3 separate regions of the Homo sapiens genome follow, and all the other regions are linked to region 1. The links are contacts of gene promoters, found by promoter capture Hi-C in blood cells and fetal thymus (Javierre and others, 2016). All regions are on one chromosome and are shown on one strand. The core of a region is centred on a gene start or on the middle of the fragment in contact, and the rest is flanking DNA. Distances in the headings are between cores, read along the strand shown.

Region 1 (4,261 bases), core at 661-3,160:
ACTCTAGCTGGCCCGCAAGCGACGCACGCAGCCGCAGTTGCCACCCGTGCCTCTGCCACCACACCTACCACAAGCTGAGGGAACCGTCTCTGGCCTCGGCCAGCCCAGAGAAGGGCTCCCACGGTGCAGCGGCGGCTGAAGGGCTCCTCAAGCACGGCCAGAATGGGAGCTGAGGCCAGGAGGCACCGAGAGCAAGCAAGGGCTGCGAGGGCTGCCAGCATGCTGTCACCTCGCTGTCACCTCTCACTGTGAGCACCACTGCACTCCAGCCTGGTTGACAGGATGAGATGCTGTCTCAAAGAAAAACCAAACGACAAACAAAAAGTTGACATCATAGTAACTGAAGAAATCAGGTAAGTAAATTACTTTATATGGTATGGTGCAGTTTTTATTTAAAAAATATTTTATACATACATACATACTTATTGATTTTTTTCTTGTATACAAAAGTATATGTATGTATGCATGTAAACATTTCTATTACTTGATTTTATTACATCATTTTTACTGCTTATATTGCAAAACTAAGTTTTTTTTTTTTTGAGACATGGTCTTGCTCTGCCGTTTGGGCTGGAGTGCAGTGGCAGGATCATAGCTTACCATATCCTTGACTTCTCAGGTTCAACAGATCCTCCCAGCTCAGCCTCCTCAGTAGCTGGGACTACAGGCGCCTGCCACCATGCCCGGCTAATTTTTTAGTTTTTAGTTTTAGTTTTTGTAGAGACGGGGTTTTGCCATATTTCCACCCTGGTCTCGAACTCCTGGCCTCAAAGAATCCGCTGGCCTTGGTGCCCTGGATGCCCTGGCCTCTCAAAGTGCTGGGATTGATTACAGGCGTCAGCCACCGCTCCTAGCCAAAACAAAGTTCTTAAAAATAAAAGTAGTATGAGCTTTTCTGGTGTATTAAGTACGGAGAAGTTAAAAAAATACAATAACAAAGTTCACAGCCTTTTGTGATCAGTAAATGTTAGTTTTTCGCTCTTCCCTAGTGACAAGGAGGCACTCAAGCATGAGTTACAACACAACCGACCTGGAATACAGCTGAAAAGATTGAAGCAACAGGTTCGCAGGGGAAGGCCTTTACAGCTTCTTTCGACTCTGACATTTCAGGATCAGCACAATTCTCCCCTATTTACTGCTGAAGCAATCAACTGGGATTATACAAAAAAATTATTTGTATTGAATACCTGACAGTTGTGTTACTATTACTAGCACTATCGGTTTTGAAGGGGAGGTGGTGGTGTGTGGAAAAAAAAAGTCTGGCAGGAGGGAGGGCAGATGTGAATCCCAGCCCACCGTCCCGTTGACAGCTCTATGGCTCTCCTTTCTGTGAATGAGCGGTGGTCCTTAGGCCTCAGACCCGACAATGTCAGTGAGAAACAGAACTTAACCCAAGGGACTGTTCTCCAAGGAGCGGCGGGGGAATCCAACGCAGAGGAGCGCAGCGCCCTCTCTAGCCTCCTGCGGGTGTCGGGGATGATCAGGGCTCCTGGGTGTTCGTCAGTGAAGACGACTGTCTTATCTGACTGTAGGCACAGAGAGTGCGCCGCGAGAGGGCGGCTCCTCACCGTCAGGCGCCGGCAGGTCGCGTTCTCTGCTGGCCGACGCCCGAAGGCGCCGAATGGGGGGGCCCTGCCGAGCTCCCTTACAGCCCCAATGTGCGCGCCGCCGGGAGGCTTGGGCACGCAGGCACCGCCGGCGGGGGGCGGGGCGAAGCCGGCGGGGCGGGGCACCAGCTGCGCGCGCGGGGCGGGGGCGGGGCCGGGGCGGGGCGCGCTGCGTGGTCCCGGCCGGCCCTGGCTCCTCCCCCTCCCGCGCCCAGGCCAGCGGCGGGCCCAGCTCCTCCCCCGACTCGGTCTCTCTCCCCTCCCCTCCGCCCGGCAGTTCCTCCCTCCCGCCGCCGCCTCTTCCTCGGTGAGGCGCTCTTCCAGCGGGCAGGCAGCATGGCGGCCGTGGAGACGCGGGTGTGCGAGACAGACGGCTGCAGCAGTGAGGCCAAGCTCCAGTGTCCCACTTGCATCAAGCTGGGCATCCAGGGCTCGTACTTCTGCTCGCAGGTAGGCGCCCGCTGCCCCGCGGATATGCCGCCGCTGCGGGACCCCTCCTCGCTTCTCCCCTGCTGGCTCCTCCCGCCCTTGCGGCGAGTCGGGACGCGCTCCTCCTCTTCCCCCCGGCCGCGTTTCCTCCTCCCCCCACCCGCGTCGCCACCGCCCCCTCCTGCCTCCTGGGGTCCCTGGGTCCTCGGGAACCGCGCTGGGCTCACGCGGGGGCGGGGGCGCCACCCGCCGCGGCCATGTGGGCTGGGGCGGAAGCGGGCTGTGCGGGGTCGCGTGGCCGCGCTAGACCTCCGCGTTCTGGGGCCGGTTCCCCGCGCTGGGGCGGGGGCCGCCAGGTGTGCGGGCTGCCGGAGGCAGGTAGCGGCGCCGGGAAGGAGGGCAGCCCGAGCGTCGCGAGCCTCCACATCCGCAGCACCGGCGGGGCTCGGGTCTGGGCGCTGGAGGCGCCGGGCCGTCCGTCGGGTCCCTGCGGGGTGGGGGGCTGAAGCTACCTGCCGGGCTCTGAGAGATGGGTGGCCCGAGGACCGTCGGAGTCGCAGAGAGGAGGAACGCTAGCTAGCTCCAGCCCCACTTCTTTGTGCTTTACTACCGTGCTTTGACACTTAAGCAACTTTGGGGGTGGGGAAGGGAGAGGTCTGTGTAATTCATTCTTTTCTTTCGGTATATAAAATTATTAATTTACAAAACTGTAAGCTAACGGGATGAGTCACCTGTGACTGAATTTCCCAGAGTGAAAAGGACAGTTCCATTGAGGGTTAGGCGTGAATGCTGTAGTGTATTTTAAGTTTTGTGCAGTAGAGCAAACCCAGCGTTGAATGGGGTCCAGACTGAAGCGTGTGCTCGTGTTTCTGTTTACTGAAGAGTACTAGTGTTGCTGCTGCATTTCGAGACCCAGGATGAGGGCTGGGCGGCAATAGTATGGCTCTTAGTTACAGTCCAGGTTTAGTGAAGAGAGGCACATGAATATTCAAATATTAAATTGGTAGCGTCCTGTGGGGAGGAGAGCCGGAATAAAGAGAAGGCCTGATTGGGGCCCTGCCCTTGCCAGTTATTGTGCGATCTTGAATTAGTAAAGTTACTTAATCTTTCTGAGTTCCAGTGTTACACTGTACAGAGGGGATGATTATAGCTTTCTTTGTAAGTTTCACAAGCTTCTTCTGAGACCCAGATTATCCAAGGAACGTGAAATGCTGTTATAATGTAAAGTCCTTTATTTTTTAAAGGATTCTAGTACGATTTAACTCTGCCATAAATAAAAATATGAATAAGAATGAAGGCAGATATATGAACACAATACAAATAATAAAAGTGTTTTCCAACATAAAACATAAAAACGTAAAGATATAAATAAATACAATCTTTACGTCACAATATTTGTAGATAAGCGATTGCAAAAGGTCTTAGCTGTGTTATACAGTCTTGTTTTTAGATAGGATATGATCCTTGACCTTGTTAGTATAATTTGGAAAAACTTGCACGTGGAGGAGTGTTGCTTGATCTAAAAATAGCATTACCGAACAATCTAAAGGACCTGTACTAGGTTTAACATGTTGAGCATTACTCATGTTAGACCTAGTACACGTCCTTTAGATTCTTTAAAATTCCCAAATTCTATCTTGTTGTGGCCTGTGTGGGACCTGAAATTAAGAAACAGTGTTTGCTTTTGACAGTTGTACCATCTGAGTAGAATAACTTTAAAAGTAGGTGGCATTTTGAATTAATATGTATTACAATCTTCTGTTAAGATTTTAAAAAGGTAGTGTGAAACCACATTCATGAAACAGGTAGAAAGAAGGTGAATCACTGGGGTTTGTGGAAAAATGCTAGACAAATTTGTGAAAACAAAACATCTAGGGTTTATTCCGTGTGTTAGGATTGGAGGTATTTACATGTTGGATTCTGCAGGTATATTTCTGGTATCACTGTTAGACATGCACTCAAATATTCCCAGAGTGGCTGTCCCAACTGTCTCTTTTTCTTCATTTCTGTTACCACCTCCTATGGTCAGCTTTTAAAATTTCCCACCAAATCAGTTGTCATACTCTCTTAATTTATTTCTCTACTGTAATTCCTCCCCTTGCAAACAAACGCCCACAAAAAACCCTATCAAACAAAACCTTTTGTACAGAAGTTATTTTTCCCGCAGTCTGATTATGCGTATCCCTCATTGCTTTCAGGATTCCAGCCCCACATTCAGGGCCCCT
Region 2 (4,261 bases), core at 879-3,378, 550 kb before region 1:
TTGGGAGACTGAGCAGGATGAATCCCTTGAGGCTAGGAGTTTGAGGCTGCAGTAAGCTGTGACCATGCCACTGTACTCAAACCTGGGCAGCAGAGCAAGTCCCCATCTTTAAAATTTTTTCCTTTAATTTAAAAAAAAGTAAAGTTTTTATGATTTTTTTAAATTATAATACATTTCTAAGAAAGACATTGCTAGGCTACTGCTATGTCTTTTTCCAGAATTGTTTCTAGTTTTATAAGCTTAGTCTTGTCAAAATAAACATTTTGGTATATGTTTTGGATAGACTTAGAACAACCTAACAGAATCATATCTGTTATTTTTTTGTCTTCCAGAATGTCTACACAAGGAAGTACAGGATTTGGCTTTTCTAGATGTCGTATCCAAACTTCGCAGTCATGAGAACAAAAGTGTTGCCCAGCAGGCCTCTCTCACAGAGCAGAGACTTACTGTGGAAAGCTGAGAACTGCCCGATACACGGCATCATCCCATCTCTAATTTCCCCTCTGTCCTCCATCCAGCGGCTTCTTCCGCTTCATTCTCTACCATACCACTTGTGCATGCATGTGATGTTCTAATACCAATTGAAGAACCGCTGTAGGTACCTCCCTAATAAGATTTCTAAACCTATAGTTAGTGTGATCATGACTTTGTCAAAGGCAAGTCTCCACCCATAACCGTTCTCTTGTATTCCTGTTGCTTGAGCTACATTAAGTAGAATGTGCATGTTGTAGTCCTATGATGATGTAAACTTGGTACTACATAATGACTTGCTCCACACATGCAGTAAACTACATAATGATGTACTGGTAAACTAGAAACAAAGAATGCAGCAGGATCTGTCTAGCTTATTAAAGATGAAACTGAATTGGAAAAATAGCTCCATTTTTTGGTGCTTGGGAAGCACAGTGACCAAAAAAGTTGTATGGCTGCTTATTCATTAGTCTTTCCTACTGATGTCAAATCCATGGTACCTAGAGTTAAATAAAATTCCAATGCTCTTACTCTTTAACTTCTGGTTTCTCCTTTTTCCTTTTTAGACTATTGAAACTGCCACAAACTTGGCAAGACTTTCTGAGGTTTCTGATTCCATATTTAATTGACTATTATCAATAGCCTGATATTGAAAAACATTTGTAGTTTTCAGTGTGAAACTAAGGGGTTGAAGAATCACTATTACAATCCCTATTACAGAGCATTTCGGGTTTTGCTTGTATTTTAGATTCTGATACATACGCTGTTTCACTCAGGAACTACTTCTACCAGTTAATCAGCATTATCCAGCACTTGTCTTTAAAATTCATTTGGCGCTTGTTTGTTTTCAACTGAGGAAATTGAGTATAGTTCATTGAAGAATGGAATTTTTTTTTTTTTTTTTTTTTTTGCTGTTTTTCATCATTCAGCTAGAAAGTGAGAAGTTTTATCTTCCATAGTCCTTTTAAATCTTATGTTAGAACTAGCAGGACGTAGGTGGAAAGATGAAGAAATAAGCTTGTCTAGACTAAAGAAAGGAAAGCAGGTTATAAAAGCCATAGTAGCCAGTCCAGTTCATTCTGCAGATGGCCCCATACCAATCGCTGTTAGAGTTTGCCACCTCCACTTTCCCACTGAGAACTGCAGCAATTTTAAAGGATATGAGAAAGCCAAGACTCAAGAGATGAGAAGACCCCCTTGGCGAAATATAGTGTACTCTTCACTGCCACTGCCACCACCAAATGGGTTTTTAGAGCTTTGAAACACAATCTTTGTAAATTAATCAAAACCTCCCTGTGACCCACCTGCCTTCTCCCCATACCCAAATTTGACCACTACTGGCCTAAAAGGCAAGATGGGCTTCGATATAGAAGGACTGCAAGACAGTAGAAAGGGCTGCCACGGAGGTGACAGTAGCTCCTTCCTCTCCAACATGTGATGCTACACATCTCTGTGGATAATCTAAGTTGGACTTTTGACTCTAAAACAGCTATAATCCAAGAAAGTTAAATTCTAATGGAGGTAAAGAATCTTGACTGATTGTTCCCTTTGATGTCCAAATAAGGGAACTATTGTGAGTACGTATGCTACACTTACTATAAGAATGATACTGTTTGTTGTCTTTCTCCTGGGCTGGATAGTGGACTATATTTTATTACAGGCTTTGAAAGACATCTGTAATGTTGCATATCTGTTCATATTAATAACTTAATAAATAGTATATGAAGCTATAATGGCATCATTTGGTTTGTTTGTATATTTTGTCTCTATTTCCAGCTCCTAGAATAAGGCTTGCTATTGATGTTCAACAAATATTTGTTGACTGAATGAATGAATCCTGCATCCATGAAGTTTCCAGACTGCCTGAACTAATTCCAGAAAGATAGACTGACTGACTGATAGAAAGTTTGAGATTTGATAGTTTGTCTGACTTTAGGGAAAAAATTTTAACAAAAGCATCCTAAAATCGTAAATGTGAGAGAAGTTACCATCTAGGCCAGCTGCCAGCCATCAATTTGCTAATATGCTAGGAACTCCCATCTCCAGCAAAATAAAGTGCAATTCAAAGTACTCATCATTGTACGGAAAGACCAGAAGGCTGTGCCCTTATCACAGGGGCTACCAAATTAGATGGTACACTGATGTGCCATTGCAGTGGATGGGAGAGTCTACAGACTGTACTCTCGCTTATCTCCTGCTACTAAATCTTAGTCCTAGAGGCCACTATTTATTAAGTTAGTTTGCTACCCACTAAGAGTACATTCTAAGGGAGACAACAGGAGGGAAGAACAGCACAACAAAGCTTTAACTGTCAATCTTGAGCCAGTACTAGAACATAGATGAAAAGGGCAGGAATACAAGCAAAGAAGATGCCTGAGTGCAATGCACTAGAATATACCCCTTTCCCCCCAACCCCATTAGCAACTTGGAGTCATGCCAGCCCACCCACCTAGACCATAACCTCATTGTGCTCAAAGCAAACACTAGCCCATAACCCAGTGTTTTCCATGATAAAAACATGTTTTGAGCATACTGTCTGATAAGAATGGAGACATAGAAGAAAACTTTTTCATCTAAAATGATTTCTTGAATAGAATGCAGTTCTCATATGCAAGCATTAGTCTGAAGTGTTCTGAAAAATGCTACATGTGAAGAATTCAAAAAGAAATGCTCTTTGTTATAATTAGGAGGCTTATTATCTAATTCTCTTGAACATACTGGGTGAGGATATCTAGACATTAAGACATTTAGGTGAGCATTACCCTTTGTATCCAGCTGTTACTGGAATCAGTAAGCTTAAAAGCCACTTAACATTAGGACGCTATAACATTTGTATTACACAAGTGTCTATTAAAAAGCATGTAATAATATTTGGGATGAATCTTTATAGCTGTAGCCAGGAAAACTGAGGTCTTTTTTCACAGGTGTGATCTCTAACTTTGCCTATATACATATAAATAATATGCCATGTAACTTCACTCTGTCGTCCAGGCTGGAGTGCAGTGGCACGATCTTGCTCACTGCAACCTCCGCTTTCCAGGTTCAAGTGATTCTCCTGTCCCAGCCTCCCAAGTAGCTGGGATTACAGGCATGTGCTCTGACGCCTGGTTAATTTTTGTATTTTTAGTGGAGACAGGGTTTTACCATGTTGACCAGGCTGGTCTTGAACTCCTGACCTCAAGTGATCCACCCGCCTCGGCCTCCCAAAGTGTTGGGATTACAGGCGTATGTTTTATAGGTGTGTCTGACTCAAGTTATGTACTTTAAAAGGGTGATACAGTGCAAAGAGTGTGGTCTTTGGATGCTGTCTAATCTATAGTCATATCCTGGGTCTGTTACATACTAGCTGTGTGACCATAGCCAAGTTACTTAAACTCTTTGGGCCTGATTTCTCAATATGACAAGTTTAATAATCCCTACTTCCCTTAGGATTTTCATGACAATTGAACTTTTAGACGTTCAAGACAAGGTGAGATGGAATTGTGATATCTTAGGGCCTAACCTATATACTCCTCTCTCACTGCTGCAGGATTCCCAACTAAAAGGATTCAAAAAACAACCCCCAAACAGCAGACAGTATGCCTATTAATAGTTTGTAATGTAGAAACAAAATGGCTCACACCTGTAATCCCAACACTTTGGGAGGCTGAGGCGTGTAGGTCACTTGAGGTCAGGAGTTCAAGACCAGCCTGGTCAACATGGTGAAACCCTGTCTCCACTAAAAATACAAAAATTAACCAGGCATCAGGGTGCACACCTGTAATCCCAGCTACTTAGGAGGCTGGGACAG
Region 3 (4,261 bases), core at 1,275-3,774, 530 kb before region 1:
AAGAGCTGACACAGCACCTGAAGGTCCGCTCCGTATCTGAAAAGTAGCTTTCCCCCACGGAGAATGCAAGCGTGCGTTCGGTATGGGGCAAGAGCGTGGGAAGCCTGCTACTGCTTTCCTTTCGGGGCATATTTACAGTGAAAGCCCGTGAACTCGCCTGCTCTTCCCTTAGATTTACTTTACTTGGGAATTCCTAGAAGTGGAAAAATAAATCACAATGGCCAGTGCGGGTCCCCAGAGGTTTAGCCCCGGCTAATGGATAACAGGAAGGGACTAAATCAGCCTCCTCTCACCAGCGGCAAGTTTACAAGAGAACCACTCAGCATGAAAACGCCAAAGCAAGCTGTACTTAATCCCTCAAGAAGTCCTAAAAACTGTAATTTTATTAAGTTAGAGACAGGGTCTTCCTCTGCCAACCAGGATGGAGTGCAGTGGTGCGATCATACTTCACTCCTGGGCTCAAGCTGTCCTCCTGCCCCAGCCTCCAGAGTCGCTGGGAGTACAGGTGCATGACGCCAGGTCCAGCTAATTAAAAAAAATTTTTTTTTTCATTTTTTTAAGACACGGGGTCTTGCTATGTTGCCCAGGCTAATCTTGAATTCCTGTCCTCAAGCAATCATCCTGTTTTGGCCTCCCAAAGTGCTGGGATTACAGGTGTGAGCCAGCCACCTTGTCTGGCCTAAAACTGTAATTTTATAAACTCTTTGTGGCAAACCCCTCCAAACAAAAAGGCTCGGGTGAGTGTAAGGATGGCTTTGCTCCAAGTTCAGAGTTTGGCTTCTCCGCCGTGCTCCCTGCCCCCACCCACCCCCCCACCCCCATCTGACTGCCTTGTCTGTTATCATGTGTAGATTTTCTATGGATTTTATTGTGTCATCATGATAAAGCCAATGTTAATGTATTTTTCAGGCAAATGCTGCATTTTCCTCCTCAAAGACTAGGCTTCTCACTCTGGAATTGGGCAGCACCTAGAAGCAGCCCCATGGCCTCACTGGAGAGAGCTCTGGCCATGAAACCCTGCTGGCCAGCGTTTATAGAGGGCTTCCCAGTTCTTCATTGGAGGTCTAAACAGGATTTCCCTAGAGAAGGAGGGCTTCGTGGAATAAATGACAAAGGGAGTTGGGGTGGCCTGCCAGGTCACTGGGCTCCAGCTCCTCATTGTTCAGCCCACAGGCTTCCCAGGGCGCCTGTCCAAGCCAGCCGGAAACAGACGAAACTGCAAAATCACTCCATTCCTGCCCACACAAACACGGGGAAATGAATGATCACTTTGCACAAGAAACCTCCAAGAGACACTTTGAGGATCCCCTTGAGGAAAGGACAACTGGGACCTGTGGCAGGAAGAAGGCTGAAAGAAAAGTCCAGGTTTATTACTCCCTGGGAGAAGGAAGAGGAAGAACAAAGGAAATGCACTTCTTTAAGTACTTCATGATGCAAAATATTTTTAAATTCCTGAGTTCACATTTAAAAACTGTATATTTTTAAATTATAGGAGCAATGATGTTAGTGGTAACCAGCCCAACAACAGAAATAAAGAGAAATTTAATAAGCTTCCCCTAAAGTCTACCTTCTACACATTGAAGAAACTTCCTCCAAGTTTTTGAGTTTTATAGACAAAGCATCCTTTTACTTCTGAGCTGTCATTTTTTTTTCCTTTGTTGGCTTATAGTTTGCAACAAGCAAAGAGGGCCAATGTAGACAATAAGAAAACTCAAGAAGCAGGGATTGGCCATCTCCAATCATCACTGATAAATTTCCTTAAAATCAAAATAACGTTGTTTCAAATATCTGAGATATGAGGCAAAACGTTTCTTGAACAAGTCTGACACTATGTTGTCAGGATCTAAGTGTGCTATATGAACCTTAAAATTTGTTTTCATTTGATCTTTGAAAAAAGTATTTAATCAGTTCTAACGACGGAAGTCTTCTTCTGCAGTGATAATTCACAATGAAAGACATTTAAGCTGACGTTTCTCTAATGGGTTTTTAAGATTCCAGCTCCAAGGGACTGTGAGAAATTATTTTCTTATATAAAAGGTTGTGAATATTATCAACATTTATCTAAGCCCATAAGTCATAAATCCCACCAGGCATTAAATTTTCAAGGGAGCTTTTAAAACATAGATTACCCTGTCTCCCACTCCAGAACTGCTAGGGGTAAGGTCTGGGGAATCTGTATTTCACATGGTCCCCAAGTGATTGTAACCAGCAGATGACCTCATGGGCAGGGATTTCCTACATACGAGGCTCTGGCCTCTGTGTCTTGTCAGTCAGCATTTTTAAGTACAAAGGAACCTTTCCCTTCCCAACTACAAAATCTTACCTTTCTGTTTCCCCTCCTAGAAAACTGGATCAGAACAATGCTTCTCAAAGTGTAGTCCCCAAACAAGCCGCAAACAGCATCACCTACGATCTTATCAGAATACAAATTCTCCAGCCCCACCCCAGACCTACTAAGTTAGAAATTATGGGCACGGAGCAAATGCATTCATGTGTTTTAACAAGTCCTCCCAGTGATTCTGACACCTGCTAAAGTTTGAGAACCACTGGATTCGAAAATTTCACAATTTCAAGAAAGAAGTAATGAAGAAAGACACACCATGTAAGGTAGAACCAAGTTTATTAATGACAGCCTTTATTACAATCACTCTCAAGTGTAAAAAATAAAGGGTGATTAATTAATATTTAAAACTCACTCGGACTTGCTGTTTGGCCTTTCAGTGGATGTGCCAAAGGGCAGGGATCTTGCCTGATTCTGAATCAATTGGCCAGATGGAGTTCACTGGAGAATGAGGCAATCAACAAAAAAGACAAATGATGCCAACTGGAGAGAGCTCGTGTCTTCTCCATGTTGGAAGGACATTACAAAATGGCAACTGTGGTGGGGGCAGAGATGAAGTAAGACAACCTTACAGTCGGAGTAAGATGTGAATACCTCTACCTATACAGAGACAAAAACACACACATGCAGAGCCATACACACACCCAAACAGTGAACACAGTTTTGAAAATAATTTCCTTTTTGTCCTTTCTCTGAGCAGACTGACACATTCATCGGCCACCACCATGCACCATGGGGCTGAAATGGAAAACCTCGCTTAATTTCCACAAAGTATTCTAGCTGGCTGCCCAGTTATGTGCTGGCAAATCTGTCCGCACCGAAAAATGTGCCTGTGGTTTTCCCAGAGTTCCACAGACTGATATCTGCTCCCCAGGAGGGCAACATCCGGTGGACACCAGCTGGATTAAAATCTAGAGGGCAAAACTCGTCCCTCCCACCTAAAGTGGGGGCAGGAGCGGCAGCACCAGGAAGTGGTTTCCCACTTTGTGTTACAGAGTACTTGCCCCAGTTCAACGCATTCCCCTCCAAAGTATTTGTGCTTTGATACCATCCTGATGGTTAGTCTGCAATAAGAGAACTGAAGGAGCTATGGCCATGCACTATTTTCTTTTTTTAATAAAAGCAAACTAAAACTGGAGGAAGAAAAAGAAACCATTAGAAGCTTTTGACTGGGTCAATGTTGTTTCCAAATTGGGTTTAATTCCATTCAAAGAGAAAGAAGGGGAGGGTGCAGAAAAGGCCACTCAGATCGACTCTGGAAGAGATCATCAAGACCAGGGAAGCATTTGGATGGTACAGCTGGTCTCTTCCCAGCCAGACTGGGAGGACATGCCACAACCTCCCAAGGCTGTGAACCTAGGAAATAAGTGCTGACCAAATAACATATTTCAATGTTTGTAGAAAAGCTGGCAGGAAAGGGAGATGATGGATTCAGATTCACAGGTCATGCAGATTAAGACTTAATCAAAAATTAATGCTTGAGCTGAGTAAGAAAACACTAAAATTTAAGTGGAACTGTATCATAGCTTTCACCTTTGGAAGACGAAAAACAACAAACATACAAAACAAAATGACCCAGAATATTCCAGAGTTTCCAAAAATCCAACTGCTAATTTTGGCAGGGTGAGAAGAAGGGGATATTTAACTGATACCTCTTCATTAACCTCATTTTCTCCTTGAATTTCACTGATAAACAAAGCTCAGGTCTACTTAGAAAAACGATCAGTCCTGCTAAAATACAGCCTCATGACGTCTTCCAATGCCCTTGCTCGGTGCACATGAAATACACAACTTCTCTTATAAGGAGACTTTCCAGGATAGACCAAGTGTGCTCGCCCAAGTGACTTGCTGAATACCATCACAAAATCTGAACCCAAAGATGAGTTGTTTTCTTCTTCAGATGAGAGTTGCAAGTGTTTC

Evidence for each region. Contacts are between HindIII fragments. The CHiCAGO score rates a contact against its expected background, and 5 or more counts as called.
Region 2: a fragment that was not itself captured here is called in contact with the fragment with the promoter of METAP1 in region 1 in 2 of 17 cell types (M2 macrophages and total B cells); the score reaches 5.8 in M2 macrophages.
Region 3: a fragment that was not itself captured here is called in contact with the fragment with the promoter of METAP1 in region 1 in 5 of 17 cell types (M0 macrophages, total B cells, total CD4 T cells and 2 more); the score reaches 7.3 in M0 macrophages.

The regions. Positions count from the first base shown.
Region 1 is chr4:98,993,811-98,998,071 of GRCh38, forward strand. It overlaps METAP1 (methionyl aminopeptidase 1), which reads left to right and starts at 1,911. Exons shown (of 11, transcript NM_015143.3): 1 at 1,911-2,057. The coding sequence starts at 1,944. MIR3684 (microRNA 3684) reads left to right here and starts at 3,577; the gene lies at 3,577-3,650. RefSeq lists enhancers at 1,353-1,402, 2,324-3,106 and silencers at 1,643-1,962, 2,123-2,582. The HindIII fragment of the contact is 4,143 bases long and covers 1-3,206 here.
Region 2 is chr4:98,441,658-98,445,918 of GRCh38, forward strand. It overlaps RAP1GDS1 (Rap1 GTPase-GDP dissociation stimulator 1), which reads left to right. Exons shown (of 15, transcript NM_001100427.2): 15 at 333-2,201. The coding sequence ends at 460. Among named protein-coding and RNA genes, the nearest start is that of RAP1GDS1, 180 kb to the left of the region's middle. The HindIII fragment of the contact is 1,285 bases long and covers 1,487-2,771 here.
Region 3 is chr4:98,467,764-98,472,024 of GRCh38, forward strand. TSPAN5 (tetraspanin 5) reads right to left here. Exons shown (of 8, transcript NM_005723.4): 8 at 2,604-4,261. Among named protein-coding and RNA genes, the nearest start is that of TSPAN5, 190 kb to the right of the region's middle. The HindIII fragment of the contact is 1,953 bases long and covers 1,549-3,501 here.